5 separate regions of the Homo sapiens genome follow, and all the other regions are linked to region 1. Evidence: promoter capture Hi-C in 16 types of primary human blood cells and fetal thymus (Javierre and others, 2016). All regions are on one chromosome and are shown on one strand. Each heading gives the region's core, a stretch centred on a gene start or on the middle of the fragment in contact. The rest is flanking DNA. Distances are from core to core; before and after follow the strand shown. Region 1 holds the start of ZZZ3 (zinc finger ZZ-type containing 3). Region 2 holds the start of HS2ST1 (heparan sulfate 2-O-sulfotransferase 1). Region 3 overlaps SRSF11 (serine and arginine rich splicing factor 11). Region 4 has its middle 2.0 kb from the start of CTH. Region 5 overlaps ZRANB2-AS1 (ZRANB2 antisense RNA 1).

Region 1 (2,519 bases), core at 13-2,512:
CTTATTTAGTACTGCAACTACTAAATAAAATCCAAATACTACTTAAGAATACGAAAAAACAAAGGTATACTGTAAATTCACTTCTGAGACATTAGGGAATTGGAGAGAAATATTAAATTGATTTCAAACTCATTTAAGAAAAATAAAGCTCAAACTCTGATGCCAAAATTTATGAGTTTGCTCTTTACTAAAAAGTTGACCTGAGGCCGGGCGCGGTGGCTCACGCCTGTACAGTGCTGAAATCCCAGCACTTTGAGAGGCCAAGGCAGGTGGATCACTTGAGGTCAGGAGTTTGAGACCAGCCTGGCCAACATGGTGAAACCCCGTCTCTACTAAAAACACAAAAATTAGCCGGGCGTGGTGAAGCGCGACTGTAATCCCAGCTACTCGATACTCGAGAGGCTGAGGCAGGAGAATCGCTTGAACCCGGGAGGCGGAGGTTGCAATGAGCCGAGATCGCCCCACTACACTCCAGCCTAGGCGACAAGAGCGAGACTCCGTCTCAAAAAAAAAAAAAAAAAAATCACATGAAACAGTCTGTTACCTTAAATATATAACCTAAAACAACCATCCCTAAACTTCAAAGATGGCAACCTCAGTAACACAGTAGTAATTAAAACCCTACCGATAACTGAGTTAATAGGCACGTACAAAATGATGAAAAGCAGGATTTTATTCTGACCACAGGTGTTGTCAGAGACATAATGGGCCCTCCAAATACTGCCAAAAGTTACTGAAAATACGAAGTCAGGGTGATGAGTAAATGACACCCAGAGAAAATAGATGGGAGGAGTTCTGTTTCAGGAGACTGGAGTCAGGTACTGCAGCAGAAAACGCGACACAATAGTTAACCGGTCTGGAATACTTTAGAAAATGGCAAGAAGGGAAAAACTGACAAGAACATCTTAAAGTAAGAGGAACGGTATCCAATGGAATCATCAGGTCTGCGCGAGCACGGCTCCCGGACTTCCAGTGAGTGGGACAGGGTGGAACTATCACTGCGTGGGGAGAAGGACCTGGCTGAGGGGTGCATATGCTTTTGCAGGTGGTGGAGCGCCCGCAGGGGGATGGGGAGGGCAGTGTTGCCTCAATGGGGTTACTGTATTCCCTTCAAGACTATGGGAAGCTGATGCAGCACGTATCCCGGCACCAAGAGGCACTCGCCCCGGGCCCCTCCCTAACGACTTGCCTTGTAGAAAGAGTTGCAGGTCCCAGGCCCCCGGAACCCAAGGCTCCGCCATCCAGGACAACTGCTCTGCCAACGAGGTCCCGCGAGAATCGAGAGATCTCGCGATACAAACCCACTCGCATCTCGCGAGCTTCCACTAGACCCAACATGGCGGTACAGAAAAAAATCAGTATTTCGGAACTTAAAAAGCACTTCACTAACGGAGTAGTGAACATTTAAAACACTGAGACAGTAGGAAGTCTTTCCGCTTTATACGTCTCCTCCTTTCCCCTTGTACAGAAAAGCAGAAATCTTAAAAACCTCCGATTACCACGATTATACTACATAAACAGAGCGCAGTGCGCTGCCCCAGGCAGCCTCCCTGTCACGTGGAAACATTTTCGGCGTGCCCGTCACGTGGGCCGCTACTGAGCGAGCGCGCTCCCGACGCCCTCCCAAAAGCCCTCCCCGCCCCCCCTTTCGCCCGCGCACACGTGCGCGCGCACCCCCGCCCCACGTGGGGGCTTCGCCGTCGCAGCCGTCGCAGCCGTCGCAGTCGTCGCCTCCAGCCCACCCCCTCCCGGTACTTGGCTCCAAATCCGGGTCCCAAGCCGATCGTTTCCCACCCCCATTCCCTCCCCCTTCATTCTCCCTCCCCCGTGTCTGGCCCTCACCACGTGTCCCGAGCTCTTGCTCACCTTTCACGCGGGGTCGGACGCAACGGGCCACTTGGGGAGGCGCCGCCGCCGTGGCCGCTCTCCGCCCCCGCCACGGCACTTGCTCGGGTGGCCACCGCTGCAGGAAGCTCGATAGCGGCGCCGCGGCGCTTCCAGGTGGGTCCCCGCCTCCCGCTCCTGCCACTTCCCGCAGCACCAGCGGCTCCTTCCGGTCCCCTCCTTTCTCCTCGTTGGGACTGGCGGGCGGCGGCGGCGGCGGCGACCGCTGCTGCTGCTGTTGCTGCTGCTGCAGGCGCGCTCACTACACCGCCTGCTGGTAACCGCGGCCCGTGCAGCGCCCGCGGGTCGGGCGCCGCCGAGGCCCTCCCCGGCCAGTCCCTGCCCCTGGGCGAAGTTTGGTCTTCCGAGGGCGGGTTGCAGTCCATCCCTTGCAACCGTCCAACCTGGCCCTAGCAGAGGAAAGGCGTCCTCGTAGCTCCGCCATTGGAAATCGGCTTCATCCTGCCCTTTGTGGCCTCCTGAGAGATTTGTAAACCCCACCTCCCTTAGCACTGTGGTCTCAAGCCAGGAGAACATCCATACATGTATTTATGATCGTGCTTCTGCCTCGCCTCGTTCACCTCTGGCTTGTACCACAGCACGCAGGCTCGAACCACTTCGGGCCTTTGTGCTTG
Region 2 (2,519 bases), core at 20-2,519, 9.2 Mb after region 1:
TCTGCCAATAGAGAAAAATGAAATAAAAAACGCTGCCTTAAAGAAGACAACGAACATCATTTAAAAAACTAACTTCAAAAATGAATTATACTTTGGTATAGATAACTCCTTTTACTCCAACAACATTGTTTAAAAGCACAAATCGCACTCAAGCGCAGCCAGCCGTATATGAATAGCAGAGGAGAACGGAAGTTAAGAGACTAACAGAAGTAGTGAAAATGAGAGAGCACGCGCGCGAGAGAGGTAAACACAAACTGTTCGCCTGGACCAACGACTTGAAGACTTGCCTCTAAGAGTTGGAAGTCTCGTCATGAGTCTCTTGCATTTCTGTCCATTTAAAAACAACCTCCACTTCTTGCCAAGCTTTATTATTCCCCCCTCCCACCTGGTGTGGTTTACAGATTGTTTTTAGCAAGAGCCGTATAAGAGAAGCTACGTACCCAAGACAATCTGAAATCAAGAGAAAACTGCTGCTAGAAACCCAAGGCGGGGAAGGAGAAGGATCAACCGAGAAATTAAGCCACGTTGCATTCTGGCCGCAGCAGTCATTAAGGAAGCGCAGTCCTCCCCACCCTTTTCAACCAGGACCGAATGTTGCGTCTTTCTCAGCTGCAATCACTCCTACTCTCCCTGTGGCAGCTGCGAAGGTGATCTACACTCACCGCTTGAAGCACAGTCGCCAACAACAACCGTAGCCCAAACGCCGGCACCAGACACCCACTCGGCCCAGCCGCCATCGCTACCATTTTCCGCAGGTTTCTGGCTGCCTAGAAGGACCCCTAAGCTAGGGGCGTCCACTCCAGAGCCTGATCCAAAACAGAACGCTAACGGCCGTTGCCCTTACATCTCTCATTTGGAAGTGACAGGTATTAAATAACGGCATATGAAAGCTTAAAAGTCATCAAATACAATCACTGGGTGCTTTCGATTACCCAAATCAGGCACTTGCCTAAACTCCCCACTTCTTTACTTCTGCGGTCTCCTTTCTTTTATTCACGACACTTCGTCAAGCAGCCAAGAAGCCACGCCTTCGCCAGTTTTAGCCCCGCCTTCTTCTCCAAGTTTACCCAATTGAATGTCGTCTTGATTGAGCTCTGTGGCAGAGGAAACCAACCGTAAACCGAACCAAGAGCGAAGCGCAGGGGCTCTTCCGTCCAATAAGCGGACCCGAACGGGGGGAGGGGCGGGGCTTCTGGTTGCCGAGCAGCGTACGCGGATGCGTGCGCGTGGTGGCGGAGGGGGATGGGCGGGGGCGGGGATGAGGGCGGCGCAGCCGCAGCGCCGGTGGAGGGGCGCGCGGCCGCGAGCAAAGGAGGGAGGGAAGGAAGGAAGAGAGGGAGGCGGGCAAGCAGGCGGGCGCGGGGGTCGGGGACTGAGGCAGTAGAGGGAGGCGAGAGCCCGGCAGCCGCTTCGCGCTGTTTGCTGCGCGGGCTTTTGGAGGGGGCGGCCGTTTAGTCGGCTGAGGAGAAGCGGACACCAGCGGCGTTGGTGATAGCGCCTGGGGGAGGGGGACTGGAGAGGCGAGAAGGGGGGTCGCTGCGGTGGTTCTCTCGCTGTCGCTCTCTCTTTGCCTCGCTCCCGGCTCGGCGGGCTCCTCCCGGCGTCTCTCTCGCCTCCGGGGTCCCGCTCCCCGCCCCCCGCGGTATGTCTTGATCCCGAGCAGCGGGTTTCATGGGGCTCCTCAGGATTATGATGCCGCCCAAGTTGCAGCTGCTGGCGGTGGTGGCCTTCGCGGTGGCGATGCTCTTCTTGGAAAACCAGATCCAGAAACTGGAGGAGTCCCGCTCGAAGCTAGGTGAGGAACTGAACTGCCCCGGGCTGAGTGCTGTGGAAGGGGCCGAGGAGGCGCTGCCGCCGGAGCAAGTGGGCGTTCATCTAACCTGGGGTCTGGCTCGGGGGCTGAAAGCGGTTTCAAAGAGAACCGGGAACAAGGGGCAGCGAGAGCACGAGCTCCAAGAATGGGTTGAATTAAGCTTGAGCGGCGTGCTGGGCTCGCGAGGTCACGGGGCAGAGGTTGCAAGGTTGGGCTTCCCTAGCCAAAGGGTAGCCCCGAAGTAGGCATTCCGCGGAGAGAGAGCGAGAGAGAAGACCGAACTCAGTGGGGAGCGTGTGTTGCTGGTCTCCGGAGACAGAAGCGCTTAGCATCGCGTGTTCTCTTGGAAGTCGTACAGGAAGCCCTGGCAATGTCAGATGAGGGGTATTCTAATTTGAGCTATGGGCATCTGGATACGAATTCTTTTGGGGGCTCATGAAGGGATAGGTGCGCAGAAATGGGAGGAGATGCTGGGATGACGGAGAGCAACATGTGAACACTGTAGCGAGTTGCACTCTTGTGCTCCGGGCAGCAAAGGACCTTGTAATTGCCAGCTGAGGGAGGCTGGCCGGGTAGTGCGGGAACGCGAGTGCAAAGCTTCATCGGAGTACGGAAATGAGGGTCCGGAGATTTAAATTCTTCTTTAGTGGCGCTAAACTGATGAATTGGGGCTTGAGAATAGGGATGCCTATGTATGTTGCTTCAC
Region 3 (2,519 bases), core at 14-2,513, 7.4 Mb before region 1:
AAAGAAAAGAAACGTTCTAAAACACCACCAAAAAGTTACAGCACAGCCAGACGTTCTAGAAGTGCAAGCAGGTAAGGTGGCATTGTGAATTCTTGGCAATTATTTTTTTAACTTTGCTTCTAACAGTATCAGTACGCTGTCAGTATGAAGTCTTTTCCAGAACATAAGTATTTCAGTGTTGAAAAAAGTTACATTTTGCTGTTATTTAAAGTTTTTAAAAGGCAATTTGTGAAGAATAATGTAGTTTATTTTTCTTTTTACTTAATATTTTATGGTCTAGAGTATATTTGAAGTAACATGGAATTCAAGAGAGGTGAGTTTTTCTCTTTATAGTTTAAGTTTTAATGGCTAAACCATACTGAATTGTTCCATTAAGTAAGCTTATTATAGTAAGCTATATTTATCATCTGCATGTTAGTACTTGAGAATTTTTCTATCCCTTTTAATGACTGTTGAATTAATGGGAAGCAATGCAGGTTCTGGTTTGTGTCATTCTTAGACTAATTCTATCTTTAAGCTGTCAGTGAAAATTGAAATGTTGCAGACCTTACTGCACAAAAAGCACATTTTCATACTTAATTTGGGATTTATATGATAGTAAGGGCTGGACTTCATTCCATTTTTCAGATCTCATTCACATGTTTTGCTGCAGTGCTTGTTTTATTCATCAACATTACTTAAATTCACTAGGAGAAGGTTCATGCCATATAAAAAAAAATAACTGAAATGTATAAAAGACCTAAATGTAAGAGCCAAAACTATAAAACCTTTAGAAAGAAACAAAAGTGAATCTTTAAGACCATGAGCTTGGTGGTTTCCTAGATATGACTTCAAAAGCATAAGCAACAGAAGAAAAGAAAATTTTGGAATTCACCAAAAGTTAAAACATTTGTATTTCAAAGGATACTATCAAGAAAGTAAAAACCTAGAGTGCTAGTTAGAAAATTCTTTATATATTCTCTATTAAGAACTCTTAGAACTCAGCAATAGACAGGCAACCCAATTTAAAAATGGCAAAGAATCTGTAGCCATTACTCCAAAGGAGATATGCAAATATCTAGTAAGTACATAAAATCTGTTCAACATCATTAGTCACCAAGGAAATACAAACCAGACCACAGTGAGATATGTCACAGTCACTAGGATGGTTATAAATCAAAAAGACAGATGATAGCTGAGCCTGACAGATGATAGTAAGTGTTGATTAGGATGTGGAGAAATTAGAACCCTGTGCATTGCTAGTATGAATATAAACTGGTACAGGTGTTTTAGAAAACAGTCTGGCATTTCCTAAAAATGTTAAACATAGAGGTTTTTGACCCACCAGTTGTACCCCTGGGGGAAAATGAAAACATTTTCACAGAAAAACTTTTATGTGAATGTTTGTGGCATTATTTCATAATAGCCAAAAAGTTAACTATCCATTAACAAATGGATAAACAGAATGGTATATCTATACAATTGAATATTTTTCAGTGATAAATAAGGTTGATACATGCTACAGTATGGATGAAACTTGCAAACATCCATGAAAGGCCGTGTATTGCGTGATTCCTTTTATATGAAATGCCCAGAATAGGCAAATCTATAAAGATACCAAGTAGATTACTGATTGCTGGGGAGATAGGGAGGATTAGAGTGATAACTAAAGGGTAGGGAGTTTTTGGGGTGGTGAAAATTTTCTTAAAAACTAAATTTTTAAGCATGAAAATGAAACCAAATGTAAGTACAGAAGGAAATGCTGAATCAGGCCTGAGGGATAGGTGGCAAAGAGATAGAAAAGATGGAAGGTACTACATATATTTTCTTACCTTAAAAACTGTTGAGGATTTTTTTTTTTACCTGTTGCTTTATATAATGTACTTGTAAGTGCCTTCTCATGCTGTATTATTGGATCACTCTAAATTAAGGCATCTTCTGTGAGTTATTAAATACCCACTGTGTTTGTAGTTGTGCTACAGTCTGTTGAAGGACACGGAAATGTAATATAAAATACTTCTTCCGTCTAGAGAATTTGGAGTTTCAGTTACATAAGACAGTAGCAAAAAGTATAAGGTGCACAGTCGTGACAATGTTTGATAAGTGAATGCTCAGTTATGTGTAACGTTTCCAGGACAAGGGTCACAGAGGGCTGTGTAAGTAGAAAAAAAGCTTCATTTGGAAATTAGACAACTAAGTACAGGGTTTTTTAAGTCTGATAACTTTTGAGAATCAGGAACAGAATTTTTTTTTTTAAGTTACAGTAAAAAGGAGGGGAAGGCTGTATATCAGCTGTATATCTTCAAAGTAATTGGTGAAAGCAGGGTTTTGGGGGACTGCAGGAGGGCGATTTTGCTAGAGTATAAGGTTTCTACCTTTCCACTAACTAGTTCTCTGAATTTCATCTAATGATTTAAAGGTGAATGTGGGGATATTTTATTAGTAACTACCTTCTATATCACATTATTGAATTATTCTGTACTTACTCTGAACACTGAATGTTTGAACCAAAAACTAACTTCTTCAGTAATAGTTTACTT
Region 4 (2,519 bases), core at 15-2,514, 7.3 Mb before region 1:
GAACAAATTGTTTTCTTTTGAGGTAAAACAAAACAGATCTAATAATTGCGTATGTTTATGCTTGATAATAATAATAATATATTTTATGAACATCCCTCCCAAGTCCCGATTGCACTGTTTTGATATTCAGTCACGGTATCTTTATTCATAGCCTGCCTTTAATGAGAATAGTAGAGGTCTTTGTGCATAAACACAAGAAGTACAGTGCTATTTTCATAGTGTTTAAGAAGTACTTATTATAAAATAATGTACTCTGTGTTTTATAAAAGGATCAAACAGTAAAGAAATATAAAAAATGAGAAGTTTCCCATTTCCTCTAAAATATCTGCTTTTGCTGAATCTCCTTCCCAAGAAGAATTAATAATTCTTCTGTAAGTGTTATGATATTTTGTTGTATGCAACATAATTTATATGAAAAATTAGCACACACCTCAAACTATATACCATTTATTGGATTTAAAGTGGCTATCATTTAATCATTTAAAAAGCTTTTTTTCTAAATACAGTTGTCTTTCTAAAATGTTTAAATTAGGGTTTTTGGTAGTATTATTATTGTTGAAAAGGTAATATGTGCCCATGATATAAAACTTGAACACAAAAGAGAATAAAATGTAAAGAAAATCACCTTTCCACTGCAGATCCATAGTCTCTATGACCAGAAGGATTTTTATACATATGAAATCATAAATATCTGTCTGAAAATAATGCAACATAGTATATATTCTTTTGAAAAAGTGGAAGCATGATGTATACGTTACTTTGCTTTGCTGTCTTAGATATTAGAGATCAATAGGCCAGGTGTGGTGGCTCATGCCTGTAATACCAGCACTTTGGGAGGCCAAGGCTGGTGGATCACTTGAGGCAAGGAGTTCGAGGCCAGCCTGGCCAACATGGTGAAACCCATCTCTACTAAAAATACAAAAATTAGCCAGACATGGTGGCTGCATCTGTAGTCCCAGCTACTTGGGAGGCTGAGGCAGAAGAATCTCTTGAAACCTGGAGGCAGAGGTTGCAGTGATTCGAAATGGCACCACTGCACTCCAGCCTGGGTAACAGAGCGAGACTCTGACATACCAGCACATCTCAATCTCTTCCTGCTTCTTGGCCATACTGTAGCCATCACAGAGTAGTATCATAACCAGTTAACCAGTCTTTTAAGAATGAATAATTAAGCCATTTTTCACTCTTTTGCTATTAAAAATAGTAACGTAGGTTTAAAAAGCATCCTTGCTCATCTCTGTACACATATTAAGAATATATCTAAAGGATAAATTCCTGCAAGTAAAATTTTCTACAAAAGAAATTGCTGAGTCATAGAAAGGGGATATTTTAAATCCTTGATACATATTAAGCTGCATCCAATAAAGTTTTCTCAGTTTAAGAGAGTAAAAAAGGCCTGATTTATAGCATTTGTATTGGGTGCTATCTTTTTTTTTTTTTTTTTTGAGATGGAGTCTCACTCTGTGGCCCAGGCTGTAGTGCAGTGACATGATCTCGGCTCACTGCAACCTCCGCCTCCTGGGTTCAAGCGATTCTCCTGTCTCAGGCTCCCAAGGAGCTGGGATTACAGGTGTGCACCACTACGCCCAGCTAAGTTTTGTGTTTTTTGTAGAGATGGGGTTTCACCCTGCTGGCCAGGCTGGTCTCGAACTCTTGACTTCAGGTGATTCGCCCACCTCGGCCTCCCAAAGTGCTGGGATTAATAGGCGTTAGCCAATGCACCCAGCCTAGTGCTGTCTTCTGAATGATTCTTTATTACAGTACACTAAATAAAATGTCTGTATTTATGCAACTCAGGGTTTGTCAGCAAATATTAGGAGGTAAAACTAATTGGAACTGTTTTAGACCCTTTTGGCCCCTAAATGCCATATCATATTACACAAAAATACCCACCTATAGTTATACATAAATATTGAGGTGAGTTGCAGTTGATGTTATATTTTTAAAAGAAAAATATTAATTAAATATGTATTAATATACATTAGTGTTTTGAAGTCTATCCATTTTTTCCCCCAGCCATACAAAGTTTGGTAGGATTCTAAAAGCTTGTAGGCCCTCAAGCACCACTCCTCTAGTGCTTAATGGGTTAAATGTCCCTAAAGCTAATTTGAAAAGCAAATTGCCTCATTCTTTCTCTTCATATCTTTCTTTCAAACTGTAAATTTTAAGAGCTGTTTATTCCTTATTCTCCTTGTTCTTAATTTGTTTAATAAAGTTTTAGATCTTTAGCGAATATTTTGCAACAACAGAAATATCCCCAAATTTCCTGGTGCTAGAAAACAGCCACAATAGTAAGTAGGTCAAGTCTGTATTGCTTAGGGAACAGGGAGATTTTTGTTTTAAAGCAGTGATTCTTCTGAGAGTAGGGCTCTGGGCGCAGGTGAGTGGTAAACAATCCTTTTTCCTGCAGGGATGTTGCTGTTGTGTAAAAGCAAAAGCATTTTGTGTAAGGATGTTAGGCTCCAGTAAGTATTTCAAAGCCACATTATCTTTCTCATTAGGGGGAGTTTCTCTCTGTA
Region 5 (2,519 bases), core at 7-2,506, 6.6 Mb before region 1:
TTTGGAGTCCTTGAATAAGACTTTCTTTTGCATCTACATTAACAGATGAATAGTCTCCAAATGTAGAGAAAACATAGTGTAGGTTTGCTAATTTCCAATGGCTTCACCAAAATTACAGGTTAAACATTTTGTGTCTCTCTTATCAGTCATCAGTGCTTCAAAATGTAGTTTTTCACGGTCAGGTACCTGCCTTAGACTTTATGATACGCAATACTTTATGGGAGGCCTGAATTTAAACACATTTTCATTATCACTAATATGAGGAAAAAACACAAAACATTATTTTTATTATTCTTTCTTCCTTCTTAGCACTCTTCTATCCTAAGATTTTAGTGCCACAGGTACTATGGGTGCAGCCTGAGAATACTGAGGTAGTTTCTTCTGGTAGAATTAACTACATTCTCCTTAACCTTTCCCTTTTTGTGATTCTAAGGAATCAATAATAAGGAACAGGAGACATAATTGTGAGTGTGATATAGGGCAACACAATCTTGTGTCACAGTTGCTGATACCACATTAAAATTCTTAGGCTCTAATACATTATTCAAATTATAAGAATACAGATAACTTGTTTTCCCTGATCAGAATTTTGATACATGGAAATAATTGCTGAAAAAGCAACATTTTTGACAGGTTCACAGTCAACAGCTAGATTAGAGGTAACAGTGTCACTAAGAGTTAATACGAGGATAGACCATAATTAACTGGATTTGCTTCATCCAAACTGAACACTTCCATTTTAGTTTTGACTTTTAGGTGTTTTCACAGAAATAGCTCATTTACAGTTAGTGTTATGTATATAAGCCAAAATAAATGTCCAAACAATTTATCAGTAAAAATCTACTGGTCTAGTTATCAAGCAATAATGTATTTTATATTTTCTTGTTTGAAAGCTTTTTAACTATACTTATAAAATTCGGTTCTACCTAGTACATGATATGCCTGTTCGTAGTATTTTAACCTAACAAAGCATTTTGAACTCTATCATCTGCTCCTCCAAGTTAGGTAAATTACTTTTTGATTTGTTGCTTATTTTGCCAATGATGCACCCCAATGCACTTACTTCAGGATCATACATTTATAGGGAACTCAATTTACCAATCCATAGTGAAGTCCCTTAGGTTAATATTTTTGCAGAGGATCACACAGCATGTTAGGAAGAAAGCCAATAGTTGACCCCAAGTCTTACTTCCAGCATAGTAATTTTTTGTGCTTCTGTCCTTGGTGATATACAAATAATCTAATTTCAAAATGTATGCCAGTGAGGCTGCTCTTTCTCAACCTATCTTAGTTGTGTGTAATAAAATATAAGTTGGCATACTTTAAGTAGAAAATTGAGGACAATAAGGTTTATTTACATGTTCTACCCTCTCCTGAAGGATGGCTGGACAGATAACTTCAAAGTTTTTTCAGCTTATGAAGAAATGGCCTCCTTGGACTTAAGAAACAGAAAAAAGCTGGGCATGGTGGTTCATGCCTATAATCCCCGCACTTTGGGAGGCTGGAGGAGGATCACTTAAGGTTAGGAGTTTAAGACCAGCCTGGCCAACATAGTGAGACCTGTCTCTAAAATAAATATTTAAAAAGAAAAAAGAAAAGTTTCTCCTACAATGGTCTTACAAAGCTTTAATTTCAGAATAAAAACTCCTTTCACAATCAAAGAATGCTTTCCAGCGAAGAACATTTATTCTATCAGTAATGAGGAAAAAATACAACTGATCAAAACCTCTTTGAGAAAGGTAACAGATATTGACCCTCATCAAACATTTGAGTGCTTGCTATAATGACAAACACTATGCTAAGGGAGAGGGATACTGGGGAAGGAGAAACTTTTAGGAGTTTCACCCAATTCCCATTGAAAGGGAAGAGGCATCAGGGATGGCATCCTAGTGTTCTGAATTGAGTCATGAAAGCTAAATGAAAAAAGAAATGGTAGTGGGGTATGTGTAGGGTATCCCAGGTATAAGAAACTTGTACTAAGATGAAAGCCTATTAGTAGTTCAGCATAGTTAACGTAGCTAGTGTATAGGTTCTGTGCACCTAAGTAGGTTAGAATTGGGAGGTGGGGGTAGTGTGAGTCCTGGAAAAAACCCCTGAACTTTTTACTATATGCATAAGGATTGTAGTTGAATTCTGAAAGCCATGAAAAGGCACTGAAAGGGTTTAAACAAAGAAATAACATGAAATGAAATGCTCGTTAGTTAAGAGCATTCTAGCATCAGTGATGAAGTGATCAATGCTTGGTGAAAAAAATTCATTTAGCAAATATTACTGAAATCCTACTAAATGCCAAATGACCATTTAGGAAGAAACTACAATATCCTAGCCCACAAATCAAAGCAGTGGTAGTGTTCACAAAAAGGAAATCTAAGAGGATTATCAAGTACTGATAATGATGTTTATCAATATGAAATACAACATGAGATACAGGTTTGGTGAATAGAGGATTTAGGAAGAATTTAAATACAGTAAAATTGGCTGTCTGACATGTGAAGGGAGATACAGGCCAGGCGTAGTGG

What was found. The method cuts DNA at HindIII sites, captures the fragments that hold promoters and counts their contacts. A CHiCAGO score of 5 or more calls a contact.
Region 2: the fragment with the promoter of HS2ST1 here is called in contact with the fragment with the promoter of ZZZ3 in region 1 in 5 of 17 cell types (naive CD8 T cells, non-activated CD4 T cells, naive CD4 T cells and 2 more); the score reaches 11.5 in naive CD8 T cells.
Region 3: a contact is called between a fragment that was not itself captured here and the fragment with the promoter of ZZZ3 in region 1, in 1 of 17 cell types (total B cells). The highest score is 6.0, in total B cells.
Region 4: a contact is called between a fragment that was not itself captured here and the fragment with the promoter of ZZZ3 in region 1, in 1 of 17 cell types (total B cells). The highest score is 5.6, in total B cells.
Region 5: a contact is called between a fragment that was not itself captured here and the fragment with the promoter of ZZZ3 in region 1, in 1 of 17 cell types (naive B cells). The highest score is 5.2, in naive B cells.

What each region holds. Positions count from the first base shown.
Region 1 is chr1:77,681,396-77,683,914 of GRCh38, forward strand. It overlaps ZZZ3 (zinc finger ZZ-type containing 3), which reads right to left and starts at 1,263. Exons shown (of 15, transcript NM_015534.6): 1 at 1,190-1,263. RefSeq lists enhancers at 1,319-1,398, 2,216-2,519, 2,419-2,518 and silencers at 1,779-2,198, 2,209-2,268. The HindIII fragment of the contact is 10,120 bases long and covers 1-2,519 here.
Region 2 is chr1:86,913,366-86,915,884 of GRCh38, forward strand. HS2ST1 (heparan sulfate 2-O-sulfotransferase 1) reads left to right here and starts at 1,270. Exons shown (of 7, transcript NM_012262.4): 1 at 1,270-1,795. The coding sequence starts at 1,672. It overlaps SELENOF (selenoprotein F), which reads right to left and starts at 761. Exons shown (of 5, transcript NM_004261.5): 1 at 663-761. The coding sequence starts at 746. RefSeq lists enhancers at 58-672, 521-570, 673-1,287, 681-840, 891-1,010. The HindIII fragment of the contact is 1,083 bases long and covers 889-1,971 here.
Region 3 is chr1:70,246,837-70,249,355 of GRCh38, forward strand. SRSF11 (serine and arginine rich splicing factor 11) reads left to right here. Exons shown (of 12, transcript NM_001350605.2): 9 at 1-71. Among named protein-coding and RNA genes, the nearest start is that of SRSF11, 27 kb to the left of the region's middle. The HindIII fragment of the contact is 1,771 bases long and covers 379-2,149 here.
Region 4 is chr1:70,408,027-70,410,545 of GRCh38, forward strand. No RefSeq gene overlaps it. Among named protein-coding and RNA genes, the nearest start is that of CTH, 2.0 kb to the right of the region's middle. The HindIII fragment of the contact is 1,557 bases long and covers 487-2,043 here.
Region 5 is chr1:71,056,998-71,059,516 of GRCh38, forward strand. All of the region lies in intron 2 of ZRANB2-AS1 (ZRANB2 antisense RNA 1), which reads left to right. Among named protein-coding and RNA genes, the nearest start is that of MIR186, 9.5 kb to the right of the region's middle. The HindIII fragment of the contact is 731 bases long and covers 892-1,622 here.